Regions from separate parts of the Homo sapiens genome. Here regions 2 and 3 are each linked to region 1. The links are contacts of gene promoters, found by promoter capture Hi-C in blood cells and fetal thymus (Javierre and others, 2016). All regions are on one chromosome and are shown on one strand. Each heading gives the region's core, a stretch centred on a gene start or on the middle of the fragment in contact. The rest is flanking DNA. Distances are from core to core; before and after follow the strand shown.

Region 1 (5,021 bases), core at 1,512-4,011:
TTTTTTTTGACAGGGTCTCTTTCTGTTGCCCAGGCTGAAGTGCAGTGCTGCAATCCTGGCTCACTGCAGCCTTGACCTCCACAGGCTCAGGTAATCCTCCCACCTCAGCCTCCCAAGTAGCTGGGACTACAGGTATGTGCCACCACACCTGGCTAATTTTTCAATATTTTGTAGAAATGCATTCTCACTATGTTGCTCAGTGTGTATATTTTATTAAGCTGACGAAGTCAACAGTATCATGCCATTACCACCTTTGACCCCTCAAGTGATTCGTTCATCTGCCACTCCTGCTTTTTGATCATTTACGTAATATTTTCCACAAACTATCCCCTCCTGTATTTCTCAGATCTCATAAAAACCACTGAAATAACTTTTTAAGTAGCCTCCCGCCACCAGTCAGTTCCAACTGCAACATACATGATCATGTCATTTCCTGCTTTTAACCTGACTGTAACTCCACAATGAATACTAAATCAAGTGCAAATCCGTCAGTACAGTATACAAGGCCCATTGAAACCTGCACACAGCAGGTGATCATGGAATGCCCACTGACTGAACAATTGCTACCACTGCACTAGCATGCCCTCATGATCTATGGCAACCTAAACACAGTTTCCCATCAACACCAGAAGAGACGTAATACCAGAAGAGAGGTAATAACAGAAGAGAGTGGATTTCAAGCAACTTTAAATCTGGATTTTCAAGCAATCTCAAATCTCCCAATGCAAATGTCATATCCCAACTTTCTCACACGTACAAAACCTATCCAATTACAAAATGTGCTGAATGAGACACAAACATAGAAATATAGCCTGGACAAGTGTTCCAACCATCCTTTCTGCCATGGAAGTGCAACTTATATGTAGTTTTATATGTTTAAGGCAACACAAATTGCAAATAACCTTTATCTTCAAGCTCCACCTAAAAAATCAACAAAATTTTACACAGAACAGCTGTTCTATGTATTTTCTTCTATGTATGTTGTCACTTTTATAAGCACTACAAAATGTACCGCATATTCACAGAGCCACGAAATATGCAATTGCTGGCATTCCAGCCACCACCCCAGTTTGCACTCTAAGTTCTATTTTAGAACTTGTATTTCTGTGATTTCACTTCCTGAAGCTGCATTTACCAAAGGCATTCTGTCAACTCAGAGTGGGAAAGGTGGTGGGGCTAGTGAGTCAGAGAAGATGCTGGTGTTGAGCCTTAAGAAGTCAAGAGATGGACAAACTGAGATTATTCTGTACTCTGAGATTCTTGACGTCAACAAGGCCCCTGATCTCCGTGTATGGCCTTTCCTCTTCCAGGGCACCTCTCCCCAGCATGTACCCTTAGCTGTTTCTTTCTACCCTCATTTCAGGGTAGCTCTTAGCCAGTAGGCAAAACGAAGGGTTTCTGGATCAATGAGTTGATTCTGTACATTCTTTGAGACATCCTAATGAAGTTACACCTTTTAGTACAGTGGTCTAATAGGAATATCACTTACAAGAATAAGGTACATTATTCCTGGGTATAGATAAGTCCTACATACGAAAAATGATATGGTCACACTGGAGAAGATACAGATCTACTTTAAAAAAAAACAGCTTTGGAGATGTAATCTGAATGCAAATATTATCAAAAAGAGATAGGCTAATTAATCTAGAAAACATTATGTCACCAAGAAAGGCAGAGTAAGATTTCAACTCACTTGCTCAAAATTGTAGATGTCTACTAACCAGCTAAAACTTTTCGCTTTTTAACACTGAAAGCAGCTACTAAAAGGTGTCAAAAATCCTAGTCCTCAGGAAATTAAATAGAAACATTTTTTGAATGGCTTAAGTGCAGACCCAGAGGGATACACCAAGTAGGAGCAAAGCTCCTCCCAGCTCTCACTCAAAGCCTGGCCATTTTCAAGGCTGTGCCTGATGAACTTTATCATCAGTGAAGTGTTTTCAGTTTATATTTCTTTTCTCTAAGTTTATGACCTACAACTACCAACTTCTTCAAATGCATCACGTAAAAAGTAGAGCAACTTCTTTAAAGAGTAATGGTTTGCTTTGTCGTACTGCAATAGTCGGTAAGAATGTTCTAAGCTTCTAAATATCCCATTCTGGAAGCTTTAGCTGAATGTTAAGCAAAACTTCAGATTAAGTTCTTTTTCTTTCCGACCCGAGTCCCTAGGAAAGTACGTGGGCTTGGAGATTTATTCAACACACACTTAATGAGCTCCAAGGCCCCGGTCCACAAGCTTCTTTCCGACAAGGGGACTGGCAATCTGACTGCACTGCATGGTAACAGGAACGGGTAACAGTGGCTTTGACATGCAGCTCAAAACCACTTGCCCAGAACTTTCAGGCCTTTCCATGTAACACGCACGATTTTACAGAAGTGCTTTCTCCAGGCTGCACCCGCCAAACCTGACGCCAAAAGACTCATTGCGAAGTGCAGCGAGGTCTCGGCGGAGGACCTGACACTGAGCGTGCGCAGGCAGGAGCAGCCGACCGAAGAGACCGCCACAGAGGGCACAGGGCAGAGGCACCCTCATGGCCCGGCTCCGGGGAGCGGACGCCGCGCGCACCTTCATGAACTCGTCCTTGTCGAAGCAGAGCGTGTCCGGCCCCTTGGGCAGGTTCATCCTACTTTTCTCCATCCCGCCGGCCACCGCCTCTCAGTGCCAAGATCCAAGCGAGAAAACGCAGGAGGCTGCGCAGACCGACTCGGCGGCCGCGGCCACCGCCAGTTTCCACGGCACAGGGGGGTCCGCTTCCGCCAACATGGCAGCGCCCGCGCCGCGGCCAATGAACGACGGCACCGCAAGCCGGCCTGCGCCTGGCTCTGGCCAAGAGGGGCGCGGGGGCCGCCGCTGCTGCACGGGTAGGCCGTGCTGCCCTCATGTGGCGGAGGGCGGTACTGCAGCCTCGCGCGGGCTCCTGCAAGGCTGCCCACCTCCCTAGGAGGCGTGGCTGAGCTGCAGGGGTGGGTCAAAAGGGGTGAGCGGGTCTCCCTCCCACCCCCACCGTTTCTACTGGGAAAAATTGTCCTACAACGCTTTTCCAGTGCCTTCTACCCTGAGACTGCTCTGCTTCGTTATGCATGGCCAGAAGTTGGCCCTTTGGTTCTCAGGCCCGTTTTCCAGGTTGGACGTATCACCGTGGTCGCATTCTTCACCTCCCTGTGCGCGGTCACTGCCGCTGGTGGGCGCTAACGCCTCTATGGAGACCCCCGCCCTTAGCCTCTGTCCCCACAGAGAAGTGTAGCGTCTCCTCCACTGGGCTCCGTTACTGGGAACTCATAGGGAAGAAGGTGGTCAGCTAGGCGGCTTTGGGTCCTCTGAGTAGCTCCCTGCTCAACCTCGGTCTCCGTTCCAGGTGGGCAGCCTCTGAGCGCAACTTTGGGTCTTCAAGGTGCTTAAAGGAGTGCCTCGCTATCTGATTAAACACAGCAGACAAATACATGTGCATGCACATTTATTTTTAATTTCAACCAGGAATGGACAAATTTTTGTGTTGTGGCCAGTACTGGTGCAACCAAACCAATTTCTTAGACTGTCTTCCTCCTCCTCCCCCCACCCACCCCAATTTTATTCTGAGACGTTCTTCCTTTATCTCCTCCCTTGCTTTTTTCTCCTCTTGTCCCTTCCGCTAGCTGTAAATACCGTGGTCAAATGATGATGATTCATTTTTCTTCTTTTCTCCTTGACATTCGGATGATTCAAACCACAAACCTCACTTCACACTCTTCATTCTGCAAACCTTTCCTTCCCGCTTCTGTTGAGGAATCTAGGCCTCTCTTCCCAATTTTTCTCCTTGGAGATAAGATTAACGCCATGATGGCCTGTAAAAAGGAATGGGACAGCAGAGGGTAAGACCTCACCATGAGACTTTGTATTTCAAGTATCTCAACTAGAAAACTGGTCACTTAAAAAAAAATGTAGGCGTAGAATCCAAAACGCTCTACTCCCTAGCACTGGACCTAGCAGGCCCTGTTGAAGAGCCTATTTCCTGCCAGTATCTACAGAACAGATGAACAGGATAAGAGCCGGAAGCTAGCTGGAGGATCAAAATATTCTGCCAGAGGAGCGATTGGGAAAAGTACATCCTAAGTCCCTGTTATGTTTGTTTTGCTGGAGGAAATGAAAACCTCATTTTCTGTTTAATTTTTTGTTTTCTCTTGTTATGAAAATTTTCAAGTACACAGAAGTGTGGAGAGCACAAGAACCCCACCCTATGTACTTAGCACCTCGCTTCAACCATCATCAACCTGTCTCCTCTGCCCTTCCCCACCCACCGCATCGAGACCTTCTTTTTTTGTTGTTTTATATATATATATATATACATATATATATATATTTTTTTGAGACGGAGTTTCACTGTTGTTACACATGCTGGAGTGCAATGGCATGATCTCTGCTTACCGCAACCTCCACCTCCCAGGTTCAAGCGATTCTCCTGCCTCAGCCTCCCGAGTAGCTGGGATTACAGGCATGTGCCACCATGCCTGGCTAATTTTGTACTTTTAGTAGAGATGGTGTTTCTCCCTGTTGGTCAGGCTGGTCTCGAACCCCTGACCTCAGATGATCCACCCGCCTCAGCCTCCCAAAGTGCTAGGTTTACAGGCATGAACCACTGAGTCCAGCCCTTTTATTGGAATATGTTTTAAAGCAAATTCTAAACACCATATCATTTCCTATCCCCTAATACCTCAGTTTACGCATCAAAAGAAGAAAAAAAAACCCTGACATTTTGTAACACCTAACAAAACCAGCAATTCCAATAACCAATCTATAGTGGCTCTGAAAGGTGGGCCTTTATCCCAAGGTCACACTGTTAATAAGTGGCAAGTTGCAAACCCAGGCAGCCTGGCTTCAAAGCCCAGTACCAAGGCACGGGAGAGGATGCTGGACAGATGAAACAAAGATGTCTGCAACCCTGCCTTCTCTTTCGAGGCTCTGCAGGAAGTCTAGGTAAGCTGGAACTTGAACTCTTTCTTTCTTCACTGTAATTCCCTTCTGACATTGTTCCTGGGACTTTAGAAAT
Region 2 (5,021 bases), core at 1,574-4,073, 690 kb before region 1:
ACTGAGGTGCTAGTTTTCGAACTCTCCCCAGATCGTTCCCTGAGAGGTGGTCCGAAGGCTACTCGCAGAGCAGTTTCGCAACTGATCCGGCTGGGCCAGTGCACGAAGGCCTGTGAGCTATTTTTGAGAAACAGGGCAGCCGCTGTTCATACTGCAATTCGTCAGCTTCGCATCGAAGGTGCCACTTTACTCTATATTCATAAGCTGTGCCATGTCTTCTTTACCAGCCTTCTCGAGACTGCAAGAGAATTTGAGATCGATTTTGCAGGCACTGACAGCGGCTGCTACTCTGCCTTTGTGGTCTGGGCAAGATCAGCCATGGGCATGTTCGTGGATGCTTTTAGCAAGCAGGTGTTTGATAGTAAGGAGAGCCTCTCTACAGCAGCTGAGTGTGTAAAAGTGGCTAAGGAGCATTGCCAGCAACTGGGTGATATCGGACTGGATCTCACCTTCATCATCCATGCCCTTCTGGTGAAAGACATCCAAGGGGCCTTGCACAGTTACAAAGAAATCATCATTGAAGCCACTAAACATCGCAACTCTGAAGAGATGTGGAGGAGGATGAACTTGATGACGCCAGAAGCCCTGGGTAAGCTCAAAGAAGAGATGAAAAGTTGTGGGGTAAGTAACTTTGAGCAGTACACAGGGGATGACTGCTGGGTGAACCTAAGTTACACAGTGGTTGCTTTCACCAAACAGACCATGGGCTTCTTGGAAGAGGCCCTGAAGCTGTATTTCCCAGAGCTGCACATGGTACTTTTGGAGAGCCTGGTGGAAATCATTTTGGTTGCTGTTCAGCATGTGGATTATAGTCTTCGATGTGAGCAGGATCCAGAGAAGAAAGCTTTTATCAGACAGAATGCATCCTTTTTATATGAAACAGTCCTCCCTGTGGTGGAGAAAAGGTTTGAAGAAGGTGTGGGGAAACCTGCCAAGCAACTCCAAGATCTGAGGAATGCATCTAGACTTATTCGTGTGAATCCTGAAAGTACAACATCAGTGGTCTAATGCTTGGGTCTGTTTATATGTGTATATATGCAGAGAGAGAGCTTATATATTATTTATATTTATATTAAGTTGTATTAGCATACTCTATAGTTTCAAACACAACTTGAAAATTAAAAGTGCCCTCTTAAAAATACAAAAATCAAAAAGAGGAAAATAAGTTAAATTAAGCCCAAGTAACAAAAATACTGGAATTATTAAAACGTATAGTATGCTAGCTATCCTTTTAAATTATGCTAATTCTCTTCTTCTGAAATTATGGTCACACTATATACTATAGCATTTCGGTTTTATCCTTTGATAAAACTTTTCTTTTTTCTTTTTTTTTTTTGAGACAGGGTCTCACCCCGTCGCACAGGCTGGAGTGCAGTGGCAAAGTCTCGACTCACTGCAGCCTTGACCTCCCGGGCCCAGGTAGTCCTCCCACCTCAGCCTCCCATGTAGCAGGAACCACAGGCAGGCACCACCATACCCAGCTAATTTTTGTATTTTTTGTAGAGATGGGGTTTCGCCATGTTGCCCAGGCTAGTCTTTTCTTTCTTCTTTTTTTTTTTCCCCACAGTATATATTATACAGCAGTCATAATATCTATAAATACATAGAGTTTATGTTGTGAAGTTTCCCAGTTCACTGAAATGTTAGGTTTCCTAAAGGGTACAGTGCCGTATAAAACAACCTGCCTCATATATTTCTCCTCAAAACGTTGGACTATTTGGGAAAAGGAAAAGAGTTGGGAAAATTGGTTTTAAGGTAAGTTTTAGTCAAAAGAATTCTTTCTTGAAACTAGCTGGTTTGTGGATTCAGATACTCTGATCCTTACAGAATCCAAGAGGAAGCTTTCATAAAAACAATTCAGCAAATATTTCCAATATAATTTGAATGGCTAATTTTCAGTTGCTAATTAATTAGCAGCTTTGTAATACTTGATTTGGGAGCATTTACTTGGAAATCCTAAGGACTATAATAAAAGTTTTCAACATATTTCTAAATTGTGTGAGTTTCCAGCTGTAGCTTTTGTCTTTGTCACATTTTAAAAAATAATAAGCAAGACACATTGGGGACACTGGCAGCAGTTGCCAGGTTTTAGCTGCCACCGCTTCAGTATGAGATATAGCTGTCCCATCTTCCCCCATTCAGGGTAGGAGATATAGTGACCCAGACTTCATGCAAATGGAAAAAAAGTTTTAACTGAAATATTTATTTAGATTTCAGGGTCTAGATGGATGGGAAAGTAGAAAAACATATGCAAATCTCAGTGTTCTCACTATGACCACTCTGAGCAGAGATTTGGTTTTGTTTCCTTTTGTAACAAAGTGAAAACAGGTGAGACAATGTGCCCAAAACAAAGGGAAGAAGAGAACCTTCTGTGACTCCTAAAATGTTCCATGCTGCATTTTTGTTTCATTTTTTATTTTTCCTTGCTTTGTTTTTAAACATGAATATAATGCTTACTTCAAATTGTTTAGTAAAACAAAATAACTAAAGAAATGTGAGCTTCCCAAGGTTTCTAAACTATCGCTGTTGTATATTCTATAGCGTTCCTTATTCTTTGAGGGAAACTGTGCTTGCTGTGATCCATTTTGTCTCTAGCTTCTAGTTGTGATTCTTGTCCATAAGCACCAAATTTGATGCCCATGATTTCAAAAGGTCATTTCTTTTATCTGAATGAAAATGGTGGTACTAAGACTGTGAAAATTATGTGAAACCTAAAGTAGTTGCCAAAGTGGCTCAGGGTTGTAAAATTCATTGACTTAATTATTCATGTGCCAGATCAACCCCTTTATTTTCTCTTTAGCTGTGCATATTTAAAATATTGGAAAGTATCAGATTTACAGATTTTCTTTGACTAATTTTTTTCACATAACTTTAGGATTTTCGAAAGTTGTAACCATAACTGGATATCTTAGCTGAGCAAAGGCGGTTATAATTTGTCTTTTTAAGATCACTGGAAATTGATAAAATTTTGTGATAATTATGATTATTCTGTGCCATTTACAGTTTCTAATACTATACTGTATGAAATATGTATAAATATATGATGCTGAGTCTGTGGAATGATACTTCTGAAATCAAAATTCCTCATAAGGCATGAAGTTGTAAAAACTTGAATGTGTATAGTTAGATATTTAAATGGTTGCTTCTTCATAGAATTGTCTGCTTTTTAAAACTGGAAGTACAGGATTTTCTTCAGGTAAAATCTGTGTGTTCCAATTACAGTTGTAGCTGAAGGAAGTATGCTTTGGTGAGTCAATTAGTATGGGAACTTGACTAAAGACCCCCAGTGTTGTAACGTACCTTTGTACCCAGACAAAACAATTATGTTACATTCCTCAAAGTGGCATGGGCTTTCTTCTCTAATTCTTCTGTTTTATTAGACCCAAGACAAGTTCTAAAAATTGAATGCAATGAGAGATTGTCCAGAAATGTAATATATACTAAAATATACCACTTAAGCATTGATTGCCTTTTCTTGTTTGCTTCAAGAATATAAAACTTGTTACTTGAGCTTGGAATCATGGGCTTGATTGAATTAATTACTCTTGGGGAAAAAAGACACCTTGTGGCATTAAGTCTTGCTTTGGTTAAAGCCTTATTTCACATAATTGCTAAAAACTCATTTTTGTTTAATATACTACCTATAGTTTAATTATCGGCACTTGTATTTTGTAACTTGATATCTTACCTAGGATTGGGAATTTGGGACATGACATGTACTATAAAAGTCAGTCTATGTACATACTGCTTATTGATGTGCTGTGATATGAGGGAATCTGAAATGTTTCATAAAAATAAAGCTTAAAAATTGTCTTACACTGGATAAAAGTGATATTAAGATATTATATCTATTGCTCTTCTTTAGTTGGTATTCAATATTTTTATATTCTTGTTACTGAAATATTCTTTGAAGACCCTAGTTTTTTGTTTTATTTATGTGGGGAGGATACTTAGGAAGCTGTTTGCTAAATTAAGTAAGTGTTCTGCTTACCGTCAGAATTGTGAATAAATCAGATCTCAATTTTTTAAAATTCCCTCGAATGGAAAATTTCAGAGGTACAAAATGTGAATTTATTATAAAAAAGTAGATTTTATACCATCTGCACATCTCTAAATAAAGAAAATAAAATGTAGGCCACAAGACCTAGGAACTAAATGACAAGGCTTGGCCTTTTTTTTTTTTTTTGAGACAGAGTCTTCCCATATCGCCCAAGCTGGAGTGCAGTGGCGTGATCTCTGCTCGCTACAATCTCTGCCTCCTGGGTTCAAGCCATTCTCCTGTCTCAGCCTCCTGAGTAGCTGGGATTACAGGGGCCCGCCACCATGCCCGGCTAATTTTTTTATTTTTAGTAGAGATGGGGTTTCAACATGTTGGCCAGGCTGGTCTCGAACTCCTGATCTCAGGTGATCCACCCGCCTCGGCCTCCCAAAGTGCTGAGATTACAGGCGTGAGCCACCATGCCCGGCCAGGCTTGCCCTTTTGAAAGTAATATGTATATCCTGAGGAAACTATCACATATTTAAAAGTATTGAATGCTATGCTTCATATTGACTGTAATGTGGGAGTGCAGAAGAATTTTAATAATTTTAAACATACTTCGTCCTCTTAAGATGCTTAGAAATTGGAAAAAGTCAACAAATATAAGTGAGAGAATAATCAAATGCACAGCTGTGTACAGTGGAAATACCAAGAAGGAAGAGAGCAGTGTACTTTTAAGGAGTTTAGAAAGTTCTCATGGAATTGTTGGCATTTGAGCGGGTCCTTGAAGAATGGACAAGACTTAAATGTGCAAAGAAAATGGAAGAGTAGGACCTGAGCCCAAGGCACAGAAGTGGGAATGTGGGTGTCATATGAAGAGACCTTCCTGGATGAATTGCAGAGTTTGGAAAAGCGTAAATAAGCCACATTTGCCTACAAAGCAAGCTTCAATCCATATGCAATGTGCAGAAGAGTTAAAGTAAAAAATAAAAGTCCTCATCCCCCCAACAATCCCATTCACTAGAGGTAACTACTAGTAAGA
Region 3 (5,021 bases), core at 927-3,426, 550 kb before region 1:
CAATGTGTCAGTCCCCCAGGTACCTACCTTCAACTTGTGTTCCCTCTCTTTAGTCACCTTGGTGAGCAGCTTGGCTTTCTGACGAGTTAAAGCATCCACAAGGGCATCACACTGAGCAACGAGGCAGGCTTCGTAGTCCAGTCCGTTTTCCTGGCAGAGGTTGGGGGTTGGTTGGGAAGAAGCAAAGAGTTTTAGGGGGAAGATGCTAAAATCTGGTGAGTGCTATAGACAAAGATATATTTCAGAGAAGTTCATCCTAGATTTCTCTATAATGTTGTTAAATTAGAGACAATATTTATATGAATTAAGGCAGGTACTATGAATCTCATCACAGCCATATGGCAGAATATTCTGTAGTCATTCAAATCTTGTTCATAGGGCACTTTTAATGCCATGAGAAAATGCTCATGAGAGACTGTTAAGAAAGAAAAAAAGTCAGGATACACGTTATTCACAGCATAATCTCATACATTGTGTGTGTGTGTGTATGTGTGTTTAAAGTAATAGAACAGGCCCGGCGCGGCAGCTCATGCCTATAATCCCAGCACTTTGGGAGGCCAAGGCGGGTGGATCACCTGAGGTTGGGAGTTGGAGACCAGCCTGACCAACATGGAGAAACCCCGTCCCCACTAAAAATACAAAATTAGCTGGGTGTAGGGGCACATGCCTGTAATCCCAGCTACTCAGGGGGCTGAGGCAGGAGAATTGCTTGAACCTGGGAGGCGGAGGTTGCGGTGAGCTGAGATCGTGCCATTGCACTATAGCCTGGGCGACAGAGTGAGACTCTGTCTCAAAAAAAAAAGAATTCAGTCCCTCTTATTCCTCCAGATATGTTAATGCTTTCTCATCTTATGAGCAGTTCCTCTATGTGTGCACATTCACACAGGAGCACCTGTGTGTGCACGTTCTCCCCTATAGACAGACCCTGAGGCACACATGGTGCCTCATTGATCTTTGTATCTTGTGCTGGGCTCAGTACATGACACAGCATAAGAGTTCAGTAAACACATTTGTTTAGAAAATGATGCATTTATATTTTGATGCATTGATGACATGGGCATATTCGGCCACAAAAGCACCATATACAGATGCCACAAAGGACGACGACATGGCACGTAGAGTGCTAGATCACATCTTTCCAGCTCTCTCTAATTGGCTCCATGTAAAAGTCCTTTCCTGTATCAGGTGTCACTTGTGTGCCAATGAGTTGAATATGTGACACTTTCAGCACCCAAGGCTATAGGGTAGGACACATAAACCTTCTAATGTCCATCACTGAGAAAATGCTTGCTACAAGACTTTTCCTTTCTTCTTCTCCTTCTTCTCCTTCTCCTTCTCCTTCTCCTTCTTCTTCTTCTTCTTCTTTTCTTTGAGACAGACTTTCTCTCTTGTTGCCCAAGCCAGAGTGCAATGGCACAATCTCGGCTCACTGCAACCTCCGCCTCCCAGGTTCAAGTGATTCTCCTGCCTCAGACTCCAGAGTAGCTGGGATTACAGGCATGCGCCACCACGCCCGGCTAATTTTTGTATTTTTAGTAGAGACGGGTTTCTCCATGTTGGTAAGGCTGGTCTCAAACTCCCAATCTCAGGTGATCTGCCCGCCTCGGCCTCCCAAAGTGTTGGGATTACAGGTGTGAGCCACCGTGCCCCGCCTCTTTCTTCTTAATACGATGCACAACGTGCAAACTTTCAACACTGAGTATTTCTCCCGACGCCAGAGCTGTGCTCACCTGGATCTGCTGCAATATGTTCTTTAGCTGAACCAGAAACTCCTTTGCTTCCTTTGCCTTATCTGAAACTCCATTTAAGGCCTGAGATAGTTGTGCCTGAAAAAGATATCACATGTTGAAAAGAAAAATTAGTTGTGAAAGGCACAGAAAATTTGCACTTCATCATAAAAGCTTATGTTTATAAGAGGGGATAGGACTGATCCCACGCATCTGCTGTTCTCATTGATGAAGGGACCACCACTGACCCATGATCTCTACAACATTTGTTTATTTTTCCAACAGTGGTAGATTGGCCTGCACTCTCCTTTCTCATCCCCAAAGCTGGATAGAGGTAAGGAGCACTCAGCTAACGGGTTGAAGCAAACAGGTCTGCCCCTGATGTTTGTAGAGCCCAAGACAAGAAGATAAATAGAGTCCTTGGCTTGGCCTGGCCCCCTCTATCCATAATCAGTACATGCCTGTATGGACATTCCAGACCCCAGGTCAGGTTCCGTCCACCCCATCCCTACACAGTCATCTCCTGGCCTGGGGTGCAAACCCTGGGGCCTGGTATGCCCTGAGGGATGGACAGGAAGGGGGCTGTGGGTCCTGGAACTGGACTAGGTGTATGGACTGGTAATCCTAGGGCATCCTCTAAAGGGGCATACAGGCTCCTAGCCTGGTACCCTTAGCCCTGGGGACTCCTCACCCTGCAGAGAGGGGTGTGACCAGCAGAAGCTTCTGAAGCATGAGGATCAGTTGCTGTGGCCCAAGGGTGAAATTGCAAGCTGAGCTCAAATCTATGGCTTTTGGCACCAGGCTTTTTTGTAACGAACCACATACACACACAATTGAATTTGTCTTTAAAACCTAGCTATTGAGTAGACTGTGACCTTGATTTTTTTTTTTTTTGAGACAGGGTCTCACTGTGTTGCCCAGGCTAGAGTGCAGTGGCTCAATCATGACTCACTGCAGCCTCAACCTCTCAGGCTCAAGTGATCCTCCCAAATCAGCCTCCAGCTAATTTTTGCATTTTTTAGTAGAGATGGTGTCTCGGAGGCTGTGTTGCTCAGGCTGATCTCAAACTCCTGGTCTCAAGTGATCCTTCCACCTTGGCCTCCCAAATTGCTGGGATTACAGGTGTGAGCCATCACGCCCATCCAGACTGTGACCCTGATTTTTACATGACTCTCATTTTCCACATTAAAAAGCTGAGGATAGAACAAAGCAGAGTCAGAAGGGCCAGGGTCTCCTTCTCCCCCAAGTCCCCTCCCAGGTCTCTGCTCAGACGTCACTGTGTCAGTGAGGACTTTCCTCACGACCTTGTGCAATATCCCCCTCGCCTTCCCCTGGCTTATTCTTCCTCCTAACAGTCGTCACCACCCAACCTAGAAAACTTGTTTGCTGTCCATCTCCATGTCCTAGAATGAAGGACAAGGGCTTTGCTGGGTGGCTCACAGCTTATCCCGGCACTGGAAGAGTACCCGGCACATGGTGGCATTCAATAAATATTTGTTGAATGCATGAATCAGTGAATGGGATTCTTTAGACCACACCAACGGTTGTCAAAGTGTGGTTCTAGACCAGCAACATCAGCATCACTGGGCGATTTGTTGAAGTGCACCGTCTCTGGCTGCACCCCAGATCTGCTGATCAGAGGTCGTGGGTGAAGCCCTGGAGTCTGCGGTTTACCAAGCCCTCCAGGGGGTTCTGATGCAGTTTGAGATCCCCTGGACTGTGCAAGTGCAGCCTCCACTGAAAACCTATGGAGAAGATGGCAAAGGAAGCCCACAAAAAGACACAGGGAGTAGGTGGAAATACAAGGAAGGGGGCCCGGTCCCCAGGAGCACCAGCACGCAAGGAGAGGTCAAGGTCTAGGCTGTCTGCTCAGAGAGAGCAGGAGCCTTAGGCTAAGGATCAGCGGAGGTGCAGCTCCTTGGAGAAGCTTTTTCCTACACCATGAGCCTCACCACTCCCAGCCCCACCTCAGTGGGTTTAGGCTCTCCACTCCATAGCTGGCCCACAGTGTACCACCATCTGTTGCCAGCACCTAGGCAGTGAAACATCCCATAGAATATACAGTGATGGCAGAAGCGTCTCAGGTCTGCTCTGTCCCTGACGGTAGCCGCTAGCTGCCTGTGGGTACTGAGCACTTGAAGTAGCTAATGTGACTGAGGAGCTGGACTTTTCATATTATTTAGGGTAAGTTGCAACTGCCATGTGTGATTAGCCAGTGGCTAGTCCTGGAGAGCACAGGTTTGACACCCATCTGATAACCTACAGGTCACATTTGGCAGGCTTCTGGATTAACCTCCTGGGAAAGGCCTCGTGATTCATGGCTTACATCCTGTCTCTGAGAAAAGGCTCTTATCCCGAGGCCCTCAAATCTTACTGTGAGTTCCTCAAACTGTTGACATACTGATTAATACATAACCTACTGACATCAAAAAGGACAGTGAAGCCAGGTGGGGTAGCTCATTCCTGTAATTCCAGCTACTCAGAGGCAGAGGCAGGAGAATTGCTTGAGGCCAAGAGTTCAAGACCAGCCTGGGCAACATAGAGAGACCTCCCTGCCGCACTCCCCGGCCCCGCTTTCCTCCCTCATCCTCACCCTCTCTCTATAAAAAAATTTTAAAAATTAGCTGGGCATGGTGGTGTGTGCTTGTAGTCCCAGCTACTCGGGAGGCTGGGGCAGGAGGATGGCTTGAGTCCAGGAGGTTGAGGTTACAGTGAGTTATGATTATGACACTGTGCTCCAGCCTAGGTGACAGAGTGAGACTGTGTCTCAAAATAAAAATGACACATTTGTTTCTGAATCACAAAGTTTTACTGATCGCCTTGCACATGGAATGTTAGCCTGTATGTTGTCATCTGTAGCCAATGAATGTAACCTCTGTGCTGTAGCCATCAATGGAAAAGGACAACTCTGATAGGAGGAGCTCTCCCTTCTCCTTCACTTTCTAGATAAGCCTTCCAACCTGTGACAGGCTCTGGAACATGCCCAGCTTTGTTGGTGTGTCTTCCCCAGTCGAGCCTCACACTTGGCTTCCAATGAACCTTTATCAAATTATTTCTGCCCTGACAGCCTTAATTTTGCCACATCCTTAGTGGGGTGCAGAGCCCAGGACAACTCCACCCATCCCAGGATACTCACCCTCAAAAGGAGGCTGAGGGGTCAGCATCATTCACAGGCCCTGGAAGATATCTTTAATGACAGGAGTTTTCAAGTTGAAGTTTATCAGGGACAGGGAAAGAATAGCAACCCCTTTCCAAGACTCCCACCCAAAGCATGGGCCCCCTGGGGCTGTGGCT

Evidence for each region. The method cuts DNA at HindIII sites, captures the fragments that hold promoters and counts their contacts. A CHiCAGO score of 5 or more calls a contact.
Region 2: a contact is called between a fragment that was not itself captured here and the fragment with the promoter of COG2 in region 1, in 2 of 17 cell types (fetal thymus and naive CD8 T cells). The highest score is 5.8, in fetal thymus.
Region 3: a contact is called between a fragment that was not itself captured here and the fragment with the promoter of COG2 in region 1, in 1 of 17 cell types (megakaryocytes). The highest score is 5.1, in megakaryocytes.

What each region holds. Positions count from the first base shown.
Region 1 is chr1:230,640,221-230,645,241 of GRCh38, reverse strand. It overlaps COG2 (component of oligomeric golgi complex 2), which reads right to left and starts at 2,761. Exons shown (of 18, transcript NM_007357.3): 1 at 2,564-2,761. The coding sequence starts at 2,635. LOC124904545 (a long non-coding RNA gene) reads left to right here and starts at 4,545. Exons shown (of 2, transcript XR_007066935.1): 1 at 4,545-4,948. RefSeq lists silencers at 1,095-1,214, 2,828-2,967 and an enhancer at 2,518-2,737. The HindIII fragment of the contact is 12,366 bases long and covers 2,236-5,021 here.
Region 2 is chr1:231,331,555-231,336,575 of GRCh38, reverse strand. EXOC8 (exocyst complex component 8) reads left to right here. Exons shown (of 1, transcript NM_175876.5): 1 at 1-3,823. The coding sequence ends at 1,008. Among named protein-coding and RNA genes, the nearest start is that of EXOC8, 3.8 kb to the left of the region's middle. The HindIII fragment of the contact is 1,959 bases long and covers 1,844-3,802 here.
Region 3 is chr1:231,194,176-231,199,196 of GRCh38, reverse strand. TRIM67 (tripartite motif containing 67) reads right to left here. Exons shown (of 10, transcript NM_001004342.5): 2 at 1,731-1,826; 3 at 28-150. Among named protein-coding and RNA genes, the nearest start is that of TRIM67-AS1, 9.1 kb to the right of the region's middle. The HindIII fragment of the contact is 546 bases long and covers 1,904-2,449 here.